Linked DNA regions of Homo sapiens: regions 2, 3, 4 and 5 are each linked to region 1. Evidence: promoter capture Hi-C in 16 types of primary human blood cells and fetal thymus (Javierre and others, 2016). All regions are on one chromosome and are shown on one strand. Each heading gives the region's core, a stretch centred on a gene start or on the middle of the fragment in contact. The rest is flanking DNA. Distances are from core to core; before and after follow the strand shown.

The links. The method cuts DNA at HindIII sites, captures the fragments that hold promoters and counts their contacts. A CHiCAGO score of 5 or more calls a contact.
Region 2: a contact is called between a fragment that was not itself captured here and the fragment with the promoter of TGFBI in region 1, in 1 of 17 cell types (M0 macrophages). The highest score is 5.4, in M0 macrophages.
Region 3: a contact is called between the fragment with the promoter of DCANP1 here and the fragment with the promoter of TGFBI in region 1, in 3 of 17 cell types (M0 macrophages, M1 macrophages and M2 macrophages). The highest score is 12.0, in M0 macrophages.
Region 4: a contact is called between a fragment that was not itself captured here and the fragment with the promoter of TGFBI in region 1, in 1 of 17 cell types (M1 macrophages). The highest score is 5.7, in M1 macrophages.
Region 5: a contact is called between a fragment that was not itself captured here and the fragment with the promoter of TGFBI in region 1, in 1 of 17 cell types (M0 macrophages). The highest score is 5.6, in M0 macrophages.

Annotation. Positions count from the first base shown.
Region 1 is chr5:136,026,562-136,030,934 of GRCh38, forward strand. It overlaps TGFBI (transforming growth factor beta induced), which reads left to right and starts at 2,427. Exons shown (of 17, transcript NM_000358.3): 1 at 2,427-2,628. The coding sequence starts at 2,495. The HindIII fragment of the contact is 4,637 bases long and covers 600-4,373 here.
Region 2 is chr5:135,375,614-135,379,986 of GRCh38, forward strand. The region is part of intron 2 of MACROH2A1 (macroH2A.1 histone); the gene reads right to left. Among named protein-coding and RNA genes, the nearest start is that of MACROH2A1, 21 kb to the right of the region's middle. The HindIII fragment of the contact is 1,275 bases long and covers 1,233-2,507 here.
Region 3 is chr5:135,444,779-135,449,151 of GRCh38, forward strand. DCANP1 (dendritic cell associated nuclear protein 1) reads right to left here and starts at 2,570. Exons shown (of 1, transcript NM_130848.3): 1 at 1-2,570. The coding sequence starts at 2,330. The coding sequence ends at 1,596. TIFAB (TIFA inhibitor) reads right to left here. Exons shown (of 2, transcript NM_001099221.2): 2 at 1-4,373. The HindIII fragment of the contact is 6,394 bases long and covers 1-3,296 here.
Region 4 is chr5:135,462,288-135,466,660 of GRCh38, forward strand. No RefSeq gene overlaps it. Among named protein-coding and RNA genes, the nearest start is that of TIFAB, 12 kb to the left of the region's middle. RefSeq lists a silencer at 3,889-4,028 and an enhancer at 4,229-4,278. The HindIII fragment of the contact is 653 bases long and covers 1,493-2,145 here.
Region 5 is chr5:135,483,234-135,487,606 of GRCh38, forward strand. No RefSeq gene overlaps it. Among named protein-coding and RNA genes, the nearest start is that of TIFAB, 33 kb to the left of the region's middle. RefSeq lists an enhancer at 1,322-2,170. The HindIII fragment of the contact is 3,155 bases long and covers 174-3,328 here.

The DNA.
Region 1 (4,373 bases), core at 1,177-3,676:
TCTCCTTTTCTTCTCCTTCCTCCTCCTCCTCTCTTCCAACACCTGCTCCCAAGGAAGCTCATCCAGTGCATGACTTTAGCTACCACCTGCTCGTAGTGGTGACTCAAATCTGCATCTCCAATCCTCATACCTATCCTGAGCTCAAGACCTTTGAATATAGCTCCCTCCTGTCCATCCCTCCTGGAAATGCAGGTGGCTTGTTCACACATAATGTGAACACAAATGGAGCACTCTCCTCACACACCCAAATGTGCACCTTCACCAGCGTGCCCAGCACAGGCATCCCTTCCTGCCAGCTATGAGCCTCGAGGTTAGCTCTACTCCCCCTCCCTAACCCTGCATGCCCAAGGGGTTTCCAAGTCTAATCAATGCTACCACTAAAATCTCCCATACACCTGTTCCCTCCTCTCCACTAGCTTGATCACTCCCCATGCAGGCCCTCAGTTGCTTTATGCTCTCAGTAGGCCCTCCTCCAGTGCCCACACTCTCTCCCTTCTCCTTCCCACCTTCTTTCTACCAGAGTTCTAACCTCTCCAAGCCCCGCTTGTCTTTTTCTTTCCCTGGCTGCCATCCTAACTCGCCCCTTCCCTTCTCAGACAAGCTTCTACATGCTACTCATCTCTCCATCAAACCACCATATTCGGGCTTTGGCCATCTGCTCTCCACAGCCAAGTCCCCAGTGGCCTCTCTGCTTCTGACACAGTGAAAGCCATTCAGATCTGTCTTGTTGGCAGCATTCCTCACTTTGAGCAGCGCCCTCCTACTAGGATACCCCTCCTTGACTACAACCCCACATTCTCTACTTCCTGGGCTCTTCTGTCACTGGAGGATGACTCCCAGGTGTGAATCTTCATCCCGCGTCCCTCACTCAAGCCCCCGATCCTCATATCCAGCTTTATCCTCATGGGATGCTTCACCAGGATGAGTCATAAGCACCTCAGACTCAGGGTGTCCCAAACCACTCATCTACCTGGCAAGCCTGCACTCTGCATGTGCCTCATTCTGAACATGGCACCATCACCTGCTGCAATGTCCAGACCACAAACACCCTACAATATCCTTGACTCTCCTTTCTCCCCTTCTCCCTGTATACAGACTCCAAATTCTATTGAGACTATTACCTCCTACACCCCTCACATTTGCCCAGCCTTCCCCATCTCTGCCTCTACCACCATAGTTCAAGCTCTCCCATGGTCCCTTCCTGGTTACCTGTTCTTCTTGCCTCCTTAAGCCTCTCATGACACTGGCCATGTCACTTGCCTCCACCCATCACCCGCTAGGCTCTTAGCTGGAGTCTGGGCCCTGCTACCTTCCTCCCCTTCTTCCCTACCCTTGACTCCACCTCCCTGTGCTTCAGCCAACCAGATAACTTGAGTTTCGTGAATGCATGCCTCAGTTTACCTGATTAACTCATTTTCATCTTTCAGGCCTCAGAGCAGGTATCACCCTGTCAGGGCCAGGTGCCTCTTCTTAGCTCCCAAAGCCCCAGCTACTCTTCATGGAACATCATTGGCTTGGGCTACGGATCTTCCCAAATTGGAGCTTTTTCACAAAGGGCTTAGGTCTCACTCATTCTATTAATCCATCTGTGTCTCCCCAGGGCTAGCAGTGCCAAGTAACTGACAGGTGATTAATAGATGCTTGGGTAAGTATCACCTCTTTACCATGTGACAATTTGTTTACCTGCCTTGAGCTCCTCCAGGGCAGGACTCTTGCCTTTGCAGAATCTATCTGGCAGGTACTGTTGCAGAGATGTTTACTGAAGAAGGGAATGAATTAGTACCAAGGTGAGGACCCCACCCTTCCCCACGGGCTCCAAAAGCAGCTTAGAGCCCAACAAAACCTGCCCCACATTTTTGGCGTTTCTGTGGATCACACGATTTACTCATCTGTCTTTCAATGAGCATGACAGGTGGGGTGGGGGTGGAGGGATTAGAGATTGAGGAGCTGGGGAGGGTGGTCAGCTCCTGGGGTGCAGAAACAAGTCTGATGGGCCATGGTGTTCTGGGAATCAGCACTGCCTCCCCTCACCCCTCCCTGCAGTGTTTTGTAGCCTCAAGATCAGTGAGGGAATCTTCGGGCCCCCAGCATGCAGGACCGAAGCCCCCGAGACAGCTGTCCCTCAGTCCCAAGGTCCCCATTTGGAAGCAGCCACAGGAGGCCTAAGGGACCTATACCCTTGGTTTGAGGAAGACTGTGGCGAGGGAGAGAGGGAGGGAGGGCTGGCAGTGAGGGCAAGGGCTGGGAAAACTGAGCACGGGCACAGTGCGGGAGCGGGTGGGTGCCCAGGGCAGCCAGGGGCGCACGGGTTGGGAGGCGCCAGGCGGCCCGCCCTCCTTGCACGGGCCGGCCCAGCTTCCCCGCCCCTGGCGTCCGCTCCCTCCCGCTCGCAGCTTACTTAACCTGGCCCGGGCGGCGGAGGCGCTCTCACTTCCCTGGAGCCGCCCGCTTGCCCGTCGGTCGCTAGCTCGCTCGGTGCGCGTCGTCCCGCTCCATGGCGCTCTTCGTGCGGCTGCTGGCTCTCGCCCTGGCTCTGGCCCTGGGCCCCGCCGCGACCCTGGCGGGTCCCGCCAAGTCGCCCTACCAGCTGGTGCTGCAGCACAGCAGGCTCCGGGGCCGCCAGCACGGGTAAGCCGAGCCGCCTGGCCAGGGGCTGCGGAAGGTCAGGTAGTCGGGGCTCGGAGCGCAAGCCGCTGGGGGCATTGAACTGGGCTGGGGGCGCAGGGGACAAAGCCCGAACTAAAAACCTTGCAGCATGGAGCGCTCGGACACCAGCCCTGCACGCGGTGGAAGGAGAGAGGGAGGGAGGTGGAGGACCATGGAGGGAAAGCGGGAGGCCGCCGCTTTGTAGAAGGGAGTGGGGAAGTGGACCAGAGACTTTCGACGCAGGCCAAGAGCCTGAGACGGACAGCGCTTTCAGCTTCTCCTCCCAGCCACTGCAGAAAGGGGGAAATGGCAACTCTTTGGCCATAATCACCGTGGGAGGGTGCCAAGGGCAAAGCCCACCCAGCAGTACACCTATTCCAACCCAGCCAGGCCCCCGGCCAGCGACTCCAGACAAGAACCTGGGCCACACACGGTGGCAGCATCTAAGGTGCCCCAGGCTCCTGTGCTCCTGGCCAGGCCCTGCACTCAGACACTGCTGGCACCCGACACTGCTCTCTGGGTACAGCAAGGGCAATGTGGCACTTCTTGTCCTGCCCGATGAAGAGCAGGAGAATGCACTGGGCCCTCACACACACTGTTCAAATGGGGAAACTGAGTCCTGAGTGGTTCCACTTTCCCACAGTCCTGAAGTGTGCACTGGAGCCAGGATTGGAGTCTGTCTTAAAGTAATAGCTGGGTTTGTAAATGTAGGACACTATCATTGCAGGAATTCCTTTGAGACCCTGAAGATGTGTTGGCTTTAGGAGACAAACTCAAGCAGAAGGTCTGGTCTGATAGTGGCCCTAATACTGACCCAGGCAGAGGCAGGCAACATTTCTACCTCAAAAACCAGGCCATACCTGCGTCACAAATACCCAGGCTTTGCTGCAGCTTCCAGCCTACCTGGTTGCACCAACTTCTTTTTCATAACTAGGTAAAACTATATATGAGTAGAATCTTGTAGTGACTCCTCAGAGGAAGCCTAAATACCATCGGGGTCTGGCGTTCACACCCACAAGCAATGCCCAAACCTCCAAGAGACTGGGCAGATCTGTGCTCAAATCAAAACTCATTGTTGGGGGTGATAGAGTTGACTTCACAGGCCCTGAAAGTCTTGGCTCCTTGCACTAGGAGTGCTCTGGGTACGGGTACAGGCTGCCCCTTGTAGGGCATAGTTGCTCTTGTTTCCTCTACTTGTGGCTTTATGGTCTAGGCCTTTCAGGAGTTTGGGGCTCTGGCGGAGAGGGCCTGCTGGGAGCACATCTGGCCACCCTGCAGAGTGAAATCAAACCAGGCCTGGCTGCAACCTCAACACCCTCCTGGAAAGAGGAGAATACTGGGGATATCCTGGGGTCTTTCTGGAAGTGGGAGAATCAGCTTTGACTTGGGCAGTGTGCAGAATAGAGTGAGGGGGGATGTCAGAAAGATGAGAGGGATATGAGGCCTCAACATCAAAATGCAAGCACCTGGCATTTTTATTATCTCTGCCCACCTCTCCGTTGGTCTCTCTGCCTTTCCTGCCAATGAATTGTGTTATGTTTGGGTGCCTCAATTTGCCTAGGAGGGTTCTATTTCTTCTGTATCTTCGCCACTAAGTCAGGAGAAGATCCTTATAGCATGCCCTGCAACAGTGTCACCTGTAAGGGCATCTCTCTGCACAGCCACAGTGAAGGATCCTCAAAGGTATTGAGGGCTTTCCATCAAGAGCCATCTTTACAGCAAACCTC
Region 2 (4,373 bases), core at 620-3,119, 650 kb before region 1:
ACACAACCCTTGCAATAGGAAAGAGTCAGGGGCTTTAACGGAGCTGTCTGAAGCTCTGTAAAACAGAGCTCATTTAACAAAAGAAATACTGAAAATAACAACCAGAAATCAAAGAAAAGCAAATGTTCACGTAATCCCAAGGAGAAAACATGTTTGCTACAAGGCCAACAACATGACAAGGAATCTGTTTATTGTATTTCTTTCGATTCATCATCCTTCCATCAGCAGTCCTTTGAGTTCAGAACTGTTTTACACCATCCCAGAAGGCCTTAACCCAATCAACCCCAATCGGAAGGTGACTGCTAAGAGCTTCCTGCATTCTGACCACACCACAACCTCCTCCAATTCCCTTGGTGGCTCTGAGTGTTTGCAGCCGCATCCCAGAATCCATTGCCCCCATCCCACCTTTTCAGGAGGTTGAGTGGCAGGGTCTGAAGCTTGCCCAGCCATCAGCTGGGAGCTCTGGGCCACAGCAAAGCTCTCCATCTGCTTGTCCCAGGGGCCTCAAAGGAACCAGAATTCCATAGAGAAAATAAAACCTACAGCAGTGATTGAAAGTAGTATTCCAAAGATGGTTCCAAGCCTGACACAAACTCCTCTACTGTTGTTAAGCCCACTGCAGACTCCTCCGAAAAGTCCAGGAGGAGCCAGGGGTCTCAGAGACAGCATTTGGTCCAGTCTTCTGCCTTCCCACAAAGTCTCCCAATAAGATGGAAATGCAGCTTAATTTGGGAATCTGTAAAGTAAGTTCCACTGACTGGAACTTTCAGCCCTATTTCAAAGTAAAAAATAAATAAGTTTACATTATACATAATAACACAGGGGAGCTATGATTCTTAGCAAACATTACCTTAATCTAACCCACCAACCCAACTCAGTGCCCGAATATCTTCCTTGTCAGGAAGTTTTCCTCTGCCTTCCTCACCTCTGGTGCTGTTTCAGCTGCCCGCTCTGTCTGCAGGGGAGGGCAGCAATCGCAAATGGCACTGTGGTGAGAGCCCGGGGTCTGCTGACAGACCGTCGGGGTTTGGATCCCAGCTCCTGTAATTATCTGTAAGATGTGGCCAAGTGCATCTAAGCCTCAGTTTCCTATTCTGTACAGGGGGAGTGATACCTGAGGTTACCTCTAGGCTTATGAGATTAATGAGTTACCAAGTAAAATGCTTAGTATACTCAGTAAATTCAAGCTACTACTGTTGAGGCTACAACTGCACTGTTAAAAAAGTGCGACAAGCTTGATTACCAGGAGAAAACTGCACTTCCTTTGCCTCGATTTCCTCTATCTATAACTGGATGATTTCGATGGATGGATTTGTGCCAAAAGGAGGAAAAAAGCAACAGAAAACCTGGTGTTTCCTCTGCCAATAGTTTACTCTTTGCTGTTATGCTTAACAGTTAACATATGTTTGAAAAATGCACTTGAACTCGATTAACCTCGGTGCTGCCAGACCTGCCTTGATGGAACACAGCACCCAGGGCGCCCCCACAGGCATCTCTACCTTGGAATGAGGTCTGGGGCTTTTGTCTGACCACAGCAGAGCGTGCAGAGCCAGTGGCTCAGGCAGTAGAAGTCAAGGCCCTGGGAAGGAGAAGGTGCCTGGGGAGGCCCTGAGAAACCTGTTCTACTCCAAGGCCTGGCTGGCAGCTGGGCAGGACCTCTGACCCACCAATCACTTGCTGTCAAGGACTCTCAATTAAGTTACAAGGAAATGGTTAATATGTATGTTTGTTTTGATAGGGAAAACCACAGCCATTTGTTCTTAATTCATCTCAGGAAGGGGTGAACAATCAGCGATGTCTGCTGAAATGAAATGATTTGAAGAGTATAATGTAAAGAGGAAACTCATTTAAGGAGCCCTGTCATGGTACGGTTTCCCAGATGGACTCAAAGCGAAAGAGCGAGGAGCAGAACAGTGAGTTTCGTGGGCTGCACTGTGTTGGGGGAGGAGGCGACGTCTGCAATCGGGCTACACATGTTCATCAAGACAGGGGAGCAGCTTCGCCCACTGGGAGCAGAATCAGGGACTTGGTCAGAGGGAGACGTTTTGCTCTACTCCCTTTTGTGCTGTTTGAATTTATCTTCTGCATATTTTCCTTTCAAAATGAAAATAATTATAACACTGGATAGATGAGAAGCTGCAGGCACTTCTGCTATCGGCTGCCCCAGCTGGCCTTTGGTACCACAGGTCACAAGCCCCCTTACCCTCAGACACTCTGTCCCAGCCTGCTTAATCCTGCTTCTCCCAAAAAATGGTTCTGAGCATGCGAAGACTTTCTAGGTTCTTTTTTCATGGCTGTTTTTAGAGCAGTGTGAGTGTGTCATAGAAAGGGAGGCCCCTGAGAGGGCACTATAGCTCCTGAGGTCTTTACCAGCCTGGCCTCTGTGCTGTCTGCCGGTGTGGATTCCCGATGCTGAGGACTGCTTGTCTAAGGATTTGCCTAAGCTCCAACACCTAGGATTCCACCTCCTCTTCGCTAAGGGGACAATGAAAGGACATTGGCCAAAAAGCTTCCCACTCTCCAGCCCTCCTCAGTGCCACTGAGTGACACAAGCTCCCCATACCTGACTGGGCACTGCCCTCTCCGACGCCTGCTGTGGCTCCTCAGGGCAGCTCTCTGCCCAGTACCTCGCTTGCTCTGCCACTGCTACAGCAGCAGCTCTAACATGCACCAGACCGCCCCTTCCCGGCGGGCCAGCACATGTCACTCCAGGGGACTTCGCCCCTCCTGTGCTCACACCCACCTCCTGCCTGTGCGCTCTAGACTTTCCTCATCCCTGTCCAGGGCTGCCTATCCTTCAAGGCCTATCTTGCAGGACCCCTGTCCTCCCTGCCCATACGAGGCCACAGGAATGTCTCTGGCAATCACCCATGACTGTTGCAGAGTCTGTCCCCTCAGGCTGTGTCTTCATCGAGCCAGCCTTGGGGACCGGGCATTTACCAGTCTTCCTGAGGTGTACGGTGGCTGCTTCAAGACAAAGGAAATGCCAAGTGGATGAAGTGCTCTGGGGTCCAATTCCTCTGACTGCTAAGGTTTCTGTGCTGTGTGATTTTGGAGAAGTTACTTAAACTCTGAACCTCAATTTACTCCTAAGAAAGCTAGGTGGTTTGAGGATTCGATGAATTACCAAATGTAAAGCATTTAATCAGTGCCTAGCACACAGTAACTGTTCAACATACGGCAGATGTTTTGGAACTTAACTGTTCCACCTTTACCTAGAATTCAGAGCACTTCCCCCGAAGTCCCTAAAACTAGTATTACAAGCCACAGTTAGAATATGAACTAGAGACTGCCAGGGCCTGGGGTGGGAGTGAAAGGGCAAGAAAAACAATGCTACTCAAGTTAAGTACCCTCATTTTCTGAATGAACAGCAGATATTGACTTTTAGCAGTCAATACTCAGATTTATAGAGGCAACATAAATGTGAACCAAAGACTACCTCAGCTACTAGTTACCACAAGGAGCATCAATCAGAATATCGATGGCAAGGGAAACCAACACATTAGCCATTTCCAGAGGCCTTGGGTTTGTTTCCACATGGCTCCCACAGCTCTGCAGGGAACGCGCCTTCTATAAAATCCCAGAGTGTCCCCTGTAGGCAGATGGGGTGATGTCAACCCCGTGAGAGGGTATCTCAGCACCAGGCGCTACTATCGGCCTTTAAAGAGCCCAGCACTGGGTGCCAGGGAACCCACATGTTCTAGCCACTAAATGGAAGATGCACTTGCCTAAAAAGGAAGCAGGTGGGGTGGGAAGAGGAGGAAGAAAGGGAGGGATCCAGGGTCAGAGAGTTAGGCTGAGTGGAGCAGCCTGGCAAACCCAAAGAGGTTTTATGTCATCTTCTTGGCAACCAGAACTGGAAGAGGGTGGTGGGAAGAGACGGAGGCTGACAATGATTAATACCCTTTGGGTTTGTCTTCTTGCTAGAGTTTATTTATAGCTCTGAGGAGTGGCTCTTTGCTTTCAGATTTTACTCTGGGTTGACTTGACTAGACATAGAAGCCTTCAGGCAGGAGAAAGCAAGCAGAAACACTGTAAATATGTTCTATCGGTTGCTGGTATTTTAACAGGAAGACAGTGGGAGAAAAGACATTTGTGGAATTCTTACCTTCTTCCTTCTCCTTTCAGTGACAAAGTGTTAATAGCTCTTTTAGAAGCCCGTCCTGATGGTCATCCACGGAGGACACCTGGGATGCTGGGTCCCACTCCTGGGACACTGCTATCTCTAATCAGCTGGGCAGCTCCTGACTTCCTCTGCTTTTCAAGGTATTGCCGAGACCTCCTCTGTGGCTTTTTTTTGGCAGACATGAGGATCAGCCCTTGCTACATTTCTAACGCCCTACTGTTTGCCAGCAACAGCTGCCCTGCTGCAT
Region 3 (4,373 bases), core at 1,320-3,819, 580 kb before region 1:
CTTGCTCTACACGTTTCTGTAGTGACCGTCCATTTGAAGGGATAGGGAAATATTCCCTCAGTGTCCTGCTGTGAAACTGTTAAAGCCACCCATCCTATGAAACTCACTCCTTTGGGTTAAGCATCACGTTCTCAGTCCTTTCCTGTGTGGATGGAGTGTTGGCACAGTGAGGCGGGTGTTGCAAGTGGACGCGTCGGGGGTGGTCTGCACGGGCTGGCCTGCATAGCCCAGGGGTGGAGAGAGGGGTCAGACTAGAACCTATGGAGACTTGGTGGGCAACAGGCCTGGGCTCAGTCCAGCCAGCCCAACCTCTGATTGCTATCCTCAGAGCCCCTCCAGGGTCTCCTTGGCAGGGGCTGTCCCCTATGAGCCTCTGCAGGGGACAGGAAGTGCTGACTGAGAACTGTCTCTCTGTGACATGCACCCTGTCAAATCCATAAACCTTCCTCAGCAGTCACCACACAGAATCCCAAAACCCCAGGGTTCTGCTTGAGTTAGAGCTACAAAGTCTCAAGGACTAGAAGGAAGCACCAGCCTTGTTCTGCCCCAGCTAGAGGGTCTGCGCTGCCCCAGCCAGAGGGTCTGTGCTGTCCCTGCTGAGGCCTACAGGAGGCAGAGACATTCACCTCCACTTCCTGTCTGCCCATGGCTTCGCGGCCTTCTCACCCCAGCTGGCCAACTGGCTTCCCACCACTATGGGCCTCGCACTGCCCATGCCGGGCCTGAGGGGCCTGGCTCAGACTTTAGTATCCAAGGGGACTGCTGCCTTGACCACCAGAGCCCCCCCGTCTGTGCATCTGTCCTCTGTTCAGCTCTGGAAAGGCCACCGGGAACACAAGAGCCAACAACCCATGGCCTTTGTCTGCAAGGAACTTGAGGTCTCACCGGGCAGACAGGCACGGAGTGAGTGCTCCACCATGGGCCTCCCTTCCTCCAGGTTGCATCCAGGACTATGCTGTCTAGCGTGTCTGCTGTGACTTCCTCATGGCAGAGCCCCACACTGTGGCTGTTTATGGAGCATTTGCAAGTCTCCCTCGAGGGGAGCCCGTGTCTCTCACGGACAGCTTGGCAAGATTCACATTCTTGGAAAAGCAGAGGAATGCGAGGGTTAAAATACCTTAAAGGGCAAGGAGATGATTTCTAGATTTCCAGACAATGTCTCAGAGAATTGTAGTGCTCTGGGGTATGCCTGAATGTAACTAATGTAGCTCCTTTTGTGCCTGAGTGTAGACTGGGTCCATGTGCCTACATGCATTCAGTTCCTCCCACCAAACTGGACAGTGATAGCTAACCCTGTTGACCCTTATGTCTGGGTGCCTTAAATTTGTGATGCCTCAAACTGACCTTCACAATGACTCTAAGGAGGTAAGTACTGTGAACTTTCCCGTTTTCTACAAGAAGAAACTGTGGCACGGAGAGATTCAGTTACTTGTCCAGGATCACAGAACTATAGTAAGTGGGGGTGGGGACAAGAATTCTAACCCAGGCAGCAGTCTGACCAGAGGGCCCTAGCTGGGAGCAGCGTTCATGTGCACTGTATGTTCGTGTTTAGTGTATGTCTGTGCATACTTGCGTGTGTGCACACGCACACATGTTCACTCAGGCACGTGGGCTGCCCTGCGGTGGGAGCTGAGAGAATGCAGTGGAGGTTGTTGGGAGGAACTCACCCGCCTGCTCTGGCTGTCTGAGCAGGTGAGGGATAGTGATATCAAGTGCGAAGACCAGGCCCTGAAGCCAGCCTGACGGTTCCAGCTGTTAGGAGAAAGTGAAGGTGGGTGCCATGGATCTGATGATTTCAGTGATTTTCTACTCAAGAAAAATGAAGTCTCGGATGGGCAGAGCTTAACTGCCTTAAAAACTTGGTACAGGGCAAGGTGTGAGTTTCCCGGTGAGACTGTGTGAACTGTGAACGGGTAGAGTCTGAAACTACAAACCAGATGTTTCCGGGCTCCCTCCCGCCTGGTCTGGCCTGTCTTCCTTCTGCTGCTATGCAGTTCATCCTGGGTCCCTGAGGGCCTCGCAGATGCTTCACTCGAAAGATTGGAGTTGCAGAGTCCCCTGTGGAGGAATTGAACTGCCCCCTCTCGCAGGACCCCAGCTGGCAAGGTTTTGTTCCTCCCTGGAGGGTAGAGACCCTCACTGAGGCCCTGGAGAGGGGCACTCAGGGGCAGCAGCTCATTCCCAAAGTTCTCTGGTGGAGCTGGGGAGTGGCACCCTGGGAACTCTGGGGTTTCCCCACCAGCTCCTCTCTCCAGTCTTTGGTGTCCAGGTACAGTCTCCAGGCCGTGGCTTCTCGAGTTCTGTATGTGGGTTGCTGCTCCGTAATGCATAGTTGGGGGACCATTTTGGTCAGTGACAGATCACTGCTGCTTTTCATCAGACCAAAATACATGTGGCTTCTTCTCCTTGCCAGCCCTACCAGGGCATCTCCCATTATACTAACCCTGCCTATTGGACCTTCTGATGCAAGGAGCAGATTAAAATCCCCTCCCTGTTGCCTACCAGGTCCGTGGCTACAACTAAATCCCTAGTTGGGGAATCACAGAGCACAGGTAAGCCCTTGGGTTCTGGAGCCAGCTTACTGGGGTGTGAGTCTTCCTTAGCTCCGTGTGGATGGTGAGCCCTCCTCTCTCAGGTCTCATGATAGTAGCTAACCCTTATTAAGTGTGTGCTGGGCACTGATTGAATGCTTTACAGGTGTCACCTTCTAAGACCCTCGTAACTCTAGCAGGTAGTACTATTATCTTACCCATTTTCCAGCGGGAGAAATAGAGGCAAGAGCAGACTAAATCACTTGCCCAAATCGCATAGCTACTGATGGTGTGATGTTGGGCAAGATATGTAACCTTTCCAAGTCTCAGTTTCCTTATCTGTTAAGTGCAGTTAATACACACAGCACCTAGCAGAGTGCTAAGCACATGGTAGGCACTCAACAGGCAAGGCCACTTAACAAGAGAATGTGAGCCCAGCTGGAGGAGAGAGAAAAATACAATGACTATAGCACTAATCATAGTAGTGATCAAATAAGTAATGCACTCCTGAATGCTTGACTTTCCTGAGTGCAAGGTAAACTCCCTGAGGGAGTTTGCCTTATTCACTTCTGGTTCAGTTCCGTGGCTTTGCACAGATCTGGCACAAGGTGGGTGCTTGGTGAAGGTTTGCTGAATGAATGAGGAACTGCTTTGGGGGTCCCAAGGGGTCATTCACAGCATCAGAGAGCCCCTTCCTAGCAGCCCTGCTCTCCCTGCCTTGTGGCTGTGATCTGAGTGTTTTTGCTTCATCCCTATTGGAGAGGAAGCTTCCCACACCAGGGCAAGCCTGGGTCTTGCCCACCTCTGTTTTCCTGATGGAGAAGATGCTCAGGGCCTGTGAGTGAAGTTGGACCTCCTTGTAGCTTGCCCTGGGTGCAAAACGATCATCCTTTTGGGCAGAAAACAGAAATTGTTGACAGCTACAGACCCAGAGATTCGAGTCAGCCAGGGGAACAGGGCTGTGCCCTTGGTGCCTCAGATTCCCTGGAGAGTGGGGTCTGGGATCATGGTGACCATGTAGATCCCTCCCTGCATCACACTAGTGAACGTTGTTTCTAAACCACACTCTCCCCTTCTCAGCATGGCGTGGCAAATAGCTGCTGCCCTTGTTCACCGAGAAAATCCTCCTGCCCTTGGCGTACCTGGCTCCTAACGAGTCCCTTATTTGGAAGGAATTCCCCCACCCCCATTGGTGTGTGACTCACCCTGAGCGAAATAACTGCTGGGCTGAGTTCTTACACAAACCCCCACCCCATCCCCTCATTCCCTAAAGACCTTGCCCTCAAGTCAACCAAGGCCTTGATCCAGAAGTGACAGAGAATGCGGAGTGTGAGGATGAGGATGATAAGGGGGACAATGAATTTCCAGGCAGGCCCAGCTCCCAGCTCCCATCCTCAGGAAACCCTGAGCCCTGCCTGCATCCTTTCCAGAAATGTGAGTCCCACCTTTCCAATTTCCTCTTACACCTCGTCTATATTTCCCACCCCCACGTCTGCATGACAGCGTGGCGTGCATGTGGCCCATCTGGGGATCAGGGAATCCTATTGGGTATGCCAGCTTAATGAAATACTTGCAGTTTATTACACTCAGGCTTTCCTAAGCCCCGCGTGCCTGTGGGTATTTGAAAGCTGAAGGTAACCCCAAGCTACCACAAATGTAATTGTTACATGTGTCCACGCATTCCTGGTGCAACCTCAAACTCCTGCTCTTAAGCAGCACACAAAATGAACCACATAAAGTAACTCCTAGTCAGACAACAGGGAGAAATGTGTGGAAATGCTGAGAGAGGCTCCCCAGAACCCCTCAGGGCCTCTAAAAGTATATGATGTTCCCATTACATTG
Region 4 (4,373 bases), core at 569-3,068, 560 kb before region 1:
AAATGTTGTTGGCAAGTATGACTTGGAGAACCAGATTTTTCCCTAGTCTCTTCTCTCAGATAACTTTCTAAAACCTCCCAGGCCCTACTCTAAGAAGGTATGTCATTATGAGTGCTAGGGGGCACTGTTGGGCAACTTTTGTGCACAGGAAATTGCCTGCTTGTGTGTTTTCAGAGGACGCGACGCTCGGTGGGGACAGCTGTCCCCACCCTCAGGCAGCTCTCAGGGACTCGGCATAGTTGCTCCCCCTGCAGGGCTAGAGCTACCTCCATGTCACCTCTTCAAGGCTGAAGGCTCTTGGAGGAATTAACTCTGCCCACCTCAGCTCAGGTGGAGAGCTGCCCTGCGAGATGTGAGTAGGGCTGCCTTTCCCTCCTCCCTTTCTCAGTCTTTAATTGACAACTGCTTGGCCTGGATGATTTTTTAGATAGGAGCTGAGGTGCCCCCCACCCCCGCCTTCCAACAACAGCACCCAGGAAAATCAAGGACACAACTTTTTATTCAATTCTGGTATTTGTTCTCATTGTTGGAATGATGAATGTCACAACTCTATTATTTGTTGGAAGTGTTTGTTGCAGACGTGCAGCTGCATCGGAATTCAACTGAATTCTGATGTTTTCACTTGGGAGAATCGAATTCCCCCATGGATCCTGCAGGGAAAGTGGTCCTAATGTTCAGGACAGGCACCCCAATCAAGCTAGGAGCCACCTGGATTTGGTGCCTTCTGCCTCAGTGGGTCCCTGTCCGCAAAGAAGAAACTAGCAGCTACTATGGGCCACACAGTGTGGTATTGTATACATTTTGTCCAAGTTGTCAACATTTTAAAATTGGAAGCCTGGAAATAAAACCCTCAATTTTTGCAGCTTCAGCTGAAAAGTCAGGAGATGAGGCTGGCCTGGGCTCGGGTTCCTGCAGGGCACTCGTCTGCTGGTGCAGACGCTTGGCGCTCCATCCCAGTTTGCCTCAGTTCCCCCAGTCCTGTTTCGTATATATTTATTTTATGTTCTAGGCTCCTGTAAGCCTTTGAGTTTGCAATCCTTTTGTGAGGTGTGGTAAACCCTAGTTAGCCAAAATGTAATTTTTTCCTTAGGACATGAGCCCCCGCAGAACCAAATAACAGAAATCACCATGAAGGAGCCAAAGTCTACACGTGAGTTGGGGCATGGGGCAGATAGCCTGGGTGGCTGGTGTTAGTTCCAGACAGACTGGAGTGCTCAGGGTCTCTCTATTGGGGCAAATCTCTCTGCTCCATCTTCATGTGGCCTTCTTCTCCGAGTGTGAAATCTCCCACCACCTTCCTGTGATGAGGATACTGTCGTTGTATTTAGGGTCAATCCAGATAATCTAGGGAAATCTCCCCATCTCAAGATCCTTAATTTGATCCCATCTTTTGCCACATGAGGTGACAGTCACAGGTTCCAGGGTTTAGGAAGTGGGTGTGTCTTTGGGGCCACTACTAAGCCTATCACGTTTGGCAAGCCTTCCTTCAGGAAGCTTGCATTCTAGAGACAGTCTGGAAAGGAAGGAGGAAACGAATAGGAATGGTGAGCATGTAGCTGCGGTGGGGGATGACTGTGCATTCAGAAACCCCCCCTGGGGAGATTCTGGTTCATCAGAGGCTGAAGGGAGTAAGGCAGCAGGCCGAGAGGTCCTGAGTGCAAATGCCCTGAAGCAGCAGCCTTGGTTAGACAGGGAACTGCCTGCAAGCGAAGGGAAGAGCAGTAACAGAGAGATGGCTGGAAACCAGGTGGGGTTAGATAGTCCTTGCAGGGCCTTTTAGATTCTGGTAGAGGGTTTGGATTCTATTCCAAGACAATAAAGGAGCTGTTGAAGGATGTCGGCTGTCGTGGGATGTGAGCCACTGAGGATGGTGCCTGAGATGGGGCAAGGCTAACAGATGCCCCTTACTCAGAGATCACCCCTTAGAGAGGTAGGGGTGGAATGGGAGGCTGCCTCTCTGGTGCACTATTGCCTGGCTACAGGCTTTGCTGGCCCCAGGTGCCCCTTTCGCTGGGCGCCTCCCGTGCTCCAGCCATGCTGCGAAAACTCAACACCCACATTTGTAACAGGGTGTTCTAGCCAAGATGGGACTCCAGCATTTTTGAAATCTCAGATCCTGTGCTTTTACCTTTAAGCTAAAGGTGAAGCTTTAAGAAGCCAGATTGCCTGGGTTTGAATCTGGAGACAGACACTTAACTATGTGAATGTGGGGGACCCCCATAACCTTCGTATACTTATTTTCCTCCTCTAAAAAATGCAGACAAAATGGTGACTGCCTCACAGTGTTGTTGGGAACTGGTGAAGGGATAAACAGGCACACAGCTTACACAGGATCGTGGACTAGGAATCAGAAAATCAATGTCAACCGTTGTCATTTTATTTTTATTTTACTTTATTTTTTTGAGACACAGTCTCACTCTGTTGCCCAGGCTGGAGTGCAGTGGCGTGATCACAGCTCACTGTAGCCTTGACCTCTGGGGCTCAAGCCATCCTTCCACCTCAGCCTTCTCAGTAGCTGAGACCGCAGGCACACATCATCACACCTGACTAGTTTTTGTTTCTATTTTTTTTTGTAGAGACCAACCTATGTTGCAAGGTTGATCTCGAACTTCTGGCCTCAAGTGATCCTCTTCCTGCCTCAGCCTCCCAAAGTTCTGGGATCACACACATGAGCCTGGCCCATTAGACTTTTAGTTTCTGTAGGAGGCATCTTTGAGAGCAGCCTATTCTTTGTGTTTTGAAAAAGGGAAAAAAATTAACAGGGCATTTGATTTTACATAGAAAAAGCCAAGCTGCAGCTCTGGGATGCAGAGGTTCCAGGCAGCAAAAGAAAAATACTGAGAGTTTTGTTTTGTAGAATCACAGCAAAGGTTGTCTTCACTCAGGGCAGAAATGTGAGGAATTGCAGAAATAGAAAGGAAGCGAGTTTCCTTACAGAGTCTCAGAAAGCTGGAGGAGTGTGTTGTTGGAGGAGAGGGCCATATGGTTGGGGCAGTCCCTCTTCGAGGGGATGCTGACCCCTTTGTGGGCTGTGGTTTCAGGACTTTGAGCCTAGCCGCACCCAGGAGCTAGTTTGCAGGTTTCCATCATGCTCTGTTGTTCTCTCCTAGTATTATCCCAGTCAGGTCTGGTCCTACTTTGCTTTAAGATGTAGCAGCAGTCTTGACCACGTGTGAGCCGAAGCATTGTGGGGAGCAGTGGGGCCTGGGAAAACTTGTTATGAGATGTCGAGAGATCACCCGAGATAAGGAGAGTGGGGAGCTTGAGTCAGGAGGTGAGATGAGGGAATACCAGCCACAAGCTGGTATCGCCAGGGTGGGCAAGCTCAACCTGTTGATTCCCAGGGCACAGAGGGAGGGGAGCTGGATGAAAGTTGGCCATACGATGACCAAGGAGGATGAAGGCTGGGTCTCTTCTGCTATCGGACACTAAAGGGCAGCCAGACCCTCGGGAACAGTGGGTGTCTGGCATCTGGGTTACATCTGGCTTACATCCTCATAACTATCCTACCATGGGGTACTATCATGGGGCTTGTTTTACAGATGGGGAAGCTAAGGCGCAGAGAGTAACTTGCTCTCAGTCACACAGCTGGTAAGTGGCAGAGTTGGTATGTCCACTGGGTCTGACTAACCCCAGCCCCTGCCGGTCCCCCAGGGAGCAGGCCCTTGCCCCGGTTCTGCAGGAACTGCAGTCATTGGCTCCTGCTCAAAGCCTCCCAATAAAGAGAATTTGGGGGAAATCCCTTCCGCAGGAGAAGCTGGTGAAAGACAAGCCCCCTTCCTGGATATTCTCAGCACAATTCAGGACTTGCTAATTACTCCTGGGCCCTACCTTTCTCTTCTCAAGTAGGCGGCAAAGTTTACTGGTGATTGCGAAGTGATTGCAGAGCGGTTGGAGAGTGAATGGATCCGGAGCAGCGTAGCAAACAGCGCAGTCTGGGGGGCTCCATCCCGCCGCAGGGCCAAGGCCTTTCCTGCCAGTCCGACGAACTGCCGGTAGATGGCACTCTGAACCCGTTCCCCGGCCCCCTCCACGCCCTGGATCCGCCGTCTGCGCCGGTGCGGGACTCCCCGGGAAGCGCCTGCGATTTCAGAGTAAGAGCTGTTTCTGCACTGCTCCAGTCCTGCATTTAACAGACGCTTATGCAGCACCTGCTGAGTACCAGGGTCTGTCCTGTGTGCTGGGTGTTCAGCCTTCCTGGGAGAGGATATACAAGGCCATCGCAGGGCCACTGCAACTCAGTGTGACCGCAATTAGGACCGGAGAGCACTTGATTTCTAAACTGCGCCTTCTGGAAGATTTCTAAACTTGCGCCTCCTGGGAAGAAGGCTAGAGTTAGCGTTGCCGCAGGGCTGTGCCTCAGACGACCAGGC
Region 5 (4,373 bases), core at 501-3,000, 540 kb before region 1:
TGCCTGAGAGGTCCTGCTTCTCTAGGCTGCTGCCTCATTTGGGGTCTGCATCTGGGTTGCCACTTCCCACCAGGATTCTCAGCAGGTGGGATGCATATCATCATGGGAGGATGTGCATGATGGTGGAAGATGACATTTATTGAGCCTTTACTCTGGTACCTGGCACTGGGCTAAGCTTCCTTAATGTGTTTAAGAACTCTATGAGGAGGGCATTATTATTATCCCCATTTTACAGAGGAGGAGACTGAGGCATGGACAGGCCAAGTCACTGACCAGGGATGTCCGTGGTAGGTGGCAGAGCCCTGCCTGGTTCAGAGGACATTGAGGAATTGGCCATGAACTGTCAGGCTTTCTAGGAAGTTGCCCCTTATTGGGCCCCTGTTTAGACAAAACAAAACAAAACAAAACAAAACAAAACAAAACAAAACACTCCAGTTTATTTTTTCCAAAAAAGAAAATCAATGGAGCATGCCTGACCACCTTCGACCACCATATTGACCACCAACAGCCAGCCTCCTCCTTTCCGAAATCTTCATCCCAAACTCATCTATCCTGTGTGTGCTGAGCACTAAGCCAGGGCCCAGGGGAAGAGCAACCAAGCAGAGATCACTCCTTGCTATGTGCTGGGCCTGTGACAAATGCTTTCCAAAACCCCTGGCCTTCATAATCCTTACCATTTGGTGATCAGAGCTGACCCTGCTGGTCTGTGATGCAGTAATGAGGGGGGTGAGCCCCAAATGAGGAAATAGGGTCTCAAAGCAAGGGCCAATATCTTGCCTAGTAATGTGGAGTCTAGACAGGAACTAGGATTGTCTGACTTGGGAACTCACACTTTGATTCACTTAGGTCCCCACACAGCTTGATGATCTTCTGTGCAATTTTTTTTTTGTTTTGAGATGGAGTCTCGCTCTGTCGGCCAGGCTGGAGGGCAGTGGCACGATCTCGGCTCATTACAACCTCCGCCTCCCGGGTTTACGCCATTCTCCTGCCTCGGCCTCCTGAGTAGCTGGGACTACAGGTGCCAACCACCACGCCTGGCTAATTTTGTTTTTTCGTATTTTTAGTAGAGATGGGGTTTCACCGTGTTAGCCAGGATGGTCTCGATCTCCTGACCTCGTGATCCACCTGCCTTGGCCTCCCAAAGTGCTGGGATTATAGGCGTGAGCCACTGCGCCCGACCTTCTTGGAGTGACTTCTAAATGGGTGAGATGTTGGCAACAAGTCCTTCTCTGTCACTTCTAATTCAGATGAATGTGGGCAGGGTGTACTGGGAAGCTCAGAAGCCCATGCACTCTGTTTCCTGGGCCCTATTTGACTCTGAGACACACACACACACAGAGGCACAAGGACACGCAGCCCTTACATGGGAGTCTTTTGGAGATGTGCTTTAATGCGTAGAGAAGAGTCTTTCATTAGCATTGAAATAGGTGCTCCAGAGAGCACTTGAAAGCTGTTTGCTCTTTCAAGTAGGCTAAAAGTCCCCAGCTCTCTGGAGCCTGCACCGTGGCTGGCCTTACGCCTCTCCTGGAGGAGCCTGCTCCAGACTGGGATGTGGGGTTTTCAAGCCAGCTGCTCCTCTCACCATTCCCAGGAGCATTTTGCACATCCCAGCTGTGGGTTTTGATCCGGGGAATGTGAACAGAGGGGCCCTTGTGGAGCCCAGGCCTGGCCCAGCTCGTCCCTCCTGCAATTGTCCTACCCAGGGTGACCACCTCTCTCCCTCTGGGCTTCCCTTCACTCAGGCAGGACTGATCTGGCTTAAAGAGGCTGTGTCCCTGCTGGGCCTCTTGGCCTCTATGTCCCCCCCAGGTGGCCTCTGGGCAGACTGATGCCGGATTTGCACTCACTTAGCCTGGAGAAGAAGTTGGGGACCGATGGCCAGAGATCAAAGGTTAAGAGGGGTTAAGCCTTCACCCCAGAAGGTCACCCATCAGCCCTGAGACAAGTATCTCACAGGTATTTTCCTGAAACCTAGAGCAGAGTTAGGCCTTCAGGGAATGTTCATCTACTTACAGTCATACGACTGAATGACAGGGATATGTTCAAGAAATGAATTGTTCAGTAAGTTTGTGGTTGTGCAGAATCATAGAGTGTACTTACACAAGCCTAGATGGTATATATGCTTTTATTTATATATTTTTATATGGAAAACCAAATGTCCAAGCACCATTACTGATAATCAGTCATCTCTCCTACTTGATCTGCAATGTCAGTATCAAGTGCCATATGTCAGATTTCTATATGTGCTCCCTTATAATCTTATGGGACCACTGTCATATAAGTGTGGTCTATTGTTGACTGAAAAACGTTGTTGTGCAGTGCAAGACTGTACTAAGGAAACACCATCCTCCCGGTATAGAAGGTCCATACCCCAGATTTTATGCAAGTCACTGCCTCCTAGGGTCTGTTTCCCCATCTTCCGAATAAGGAGTTTGGACTTGACTGATTGACAATCAGTGGCAGATACTTCATTATCTTGGTCAATTAGAGCCCTTAATACATTTCTGCTCTCAGGCAATGAGAGGAAATTAGTCTAGACAAGACAGATAAAAGGGAAAAGGATGGTTGGACTTGATCAGAATTCCTAAGGGAGGTTGTAACATTGTTTTCCTGAGGATCTTGGTGATCAGAGCAGACCCTGCTGGTCTGTGATGGAGCAATGAGGAGGGTGAACCCCAAGCTGAGACTTAACCCCTTCCCATCTGCCCACCTTCCTTTCCCCTTCCCAAGAGGCTATGGTGAGCAAATGGCTTTGATTCAGAGGGGCCTGATTCATCAAGCCTGATCCAAGCTCGAGGGTTCTGATTTGTCCTGAGCACACAGTAGAGTTCCATCCAGTGGGAATGGGTGGGATATTATCCTACCTGCCTGCCTCTCAGCCAGGGGCAGTGCTATAGTGCACCAGTCAGGATGGTGGCAACCCAGAGGTGTGCGCTTCATGCAGAATGGACACACCAAGTGTTGTGGACAGCTGCAAAAAGCACCACCAAGGCTACACCTTTGATGGGCATTGTGTGAGCAAGACCCGGTGGAGAAGGAAATTGAAGGGAAAGAAATTTCACAGGCTGAACTTTTCCCCCTGCAGGGGCTCTCTGTTCCCATTCAGAGGAGTGCTCAAACTGTCTCTCCACGGCACTTGGGTCAAGGCCACAGGCTCTTCCAGGACTGTGGAGGAGTCCCATCTTGGTGGGTCAAAGGAAGGCAGCTGGTCTGGAGAAGGCACACCCGATGTTGACAAGGGGGCACTGAGGACCTGCTGGGGCTTCCTAGCATGGCTCTGGAGTCAGGAGGAATGTGGGTTAATCCCAGGCTCCATTTCTGGCTGTGAAGCTTGGACAGGCAACTTAACTTCTCTGTGGTTCCCCCCATCAGATCTACACACCGGGGTAATAATGGAGCGTCCGTGAGCAGGCACGTGAAAACACACAGAGAGCGCCAGCAGCGTAAGTGCTCAACAACTGATAAGCACACTACAAATAACAAGAAGAGGGTGCCAGGCATTGAAAGAATACGATGTTCAAAGTGATTACTCCACTGTGAGTACTACCTGTTACTTTTTGTGGCCTTTGATCCAATCAACAGTCCCATGGAGGGGAACTGCTGCTGTCCCCATTCTACAGAGGAGCCCACTGAGGCTTGGAAGTGGGCTTGGGTTTGAGCCAAACCTTGGATTCAGAGCCCTATGCTTACCCTGACCTTAGGCCTTGGGCACGGTGCTCCATAAGGGCAGAAGGCTGTGCCTACCTTCATCCGTGAAGAAGGGTGGAGGGGCTGAAGGAACACCCATGTCCCTGGGAGAAAGAACTGGAGAGAGGTGAAAATGGAAGATTTTAAAGGCAGAAGTAGCTGTTGCTCTCATGGCTTGGCTCCTGGCTGCATACCTGACCAGGACACAGAGAGGGTTTTAGGACCTGCCAAGGCCCAGGGCACAAACCACAGAAAGTGGATCCAAATGTGTGGGCTCAGCAGCCTCCCTGATGGGGGCTTTTGAGACTGAGTGGGTGGGGGTGGGGCCCACGCTGTTCTCTCTCCCAGCAGGGATGGATGTGGCAATCAGGGACAGATGGCAGTGCCCTGAGAGGCAAATGGGAAGAGAGAAGAAACCACTGCCTCATTGGCAGGAGAAGGGTCAGCCTAGGAACAAAGCTCATGGAGAGAGATACTTCCCTCCTGGGCACTTCTATAATTGGGGGCCTTGCCCCACTTCTCCCCTGGAGCAGCCTGGGGACCCCAGTAAAGGTGGCACTGGCAGGACAGAGAGGACAAATGGGTCAGAGCTGCCCAGTTGTTGTGTGCAAGGGCTGGGGATGGCAGAGCTATCTCACCCTGGGGGACCTTAGACACACCCTCTGTTCAGATCCCAACTGTGAAAT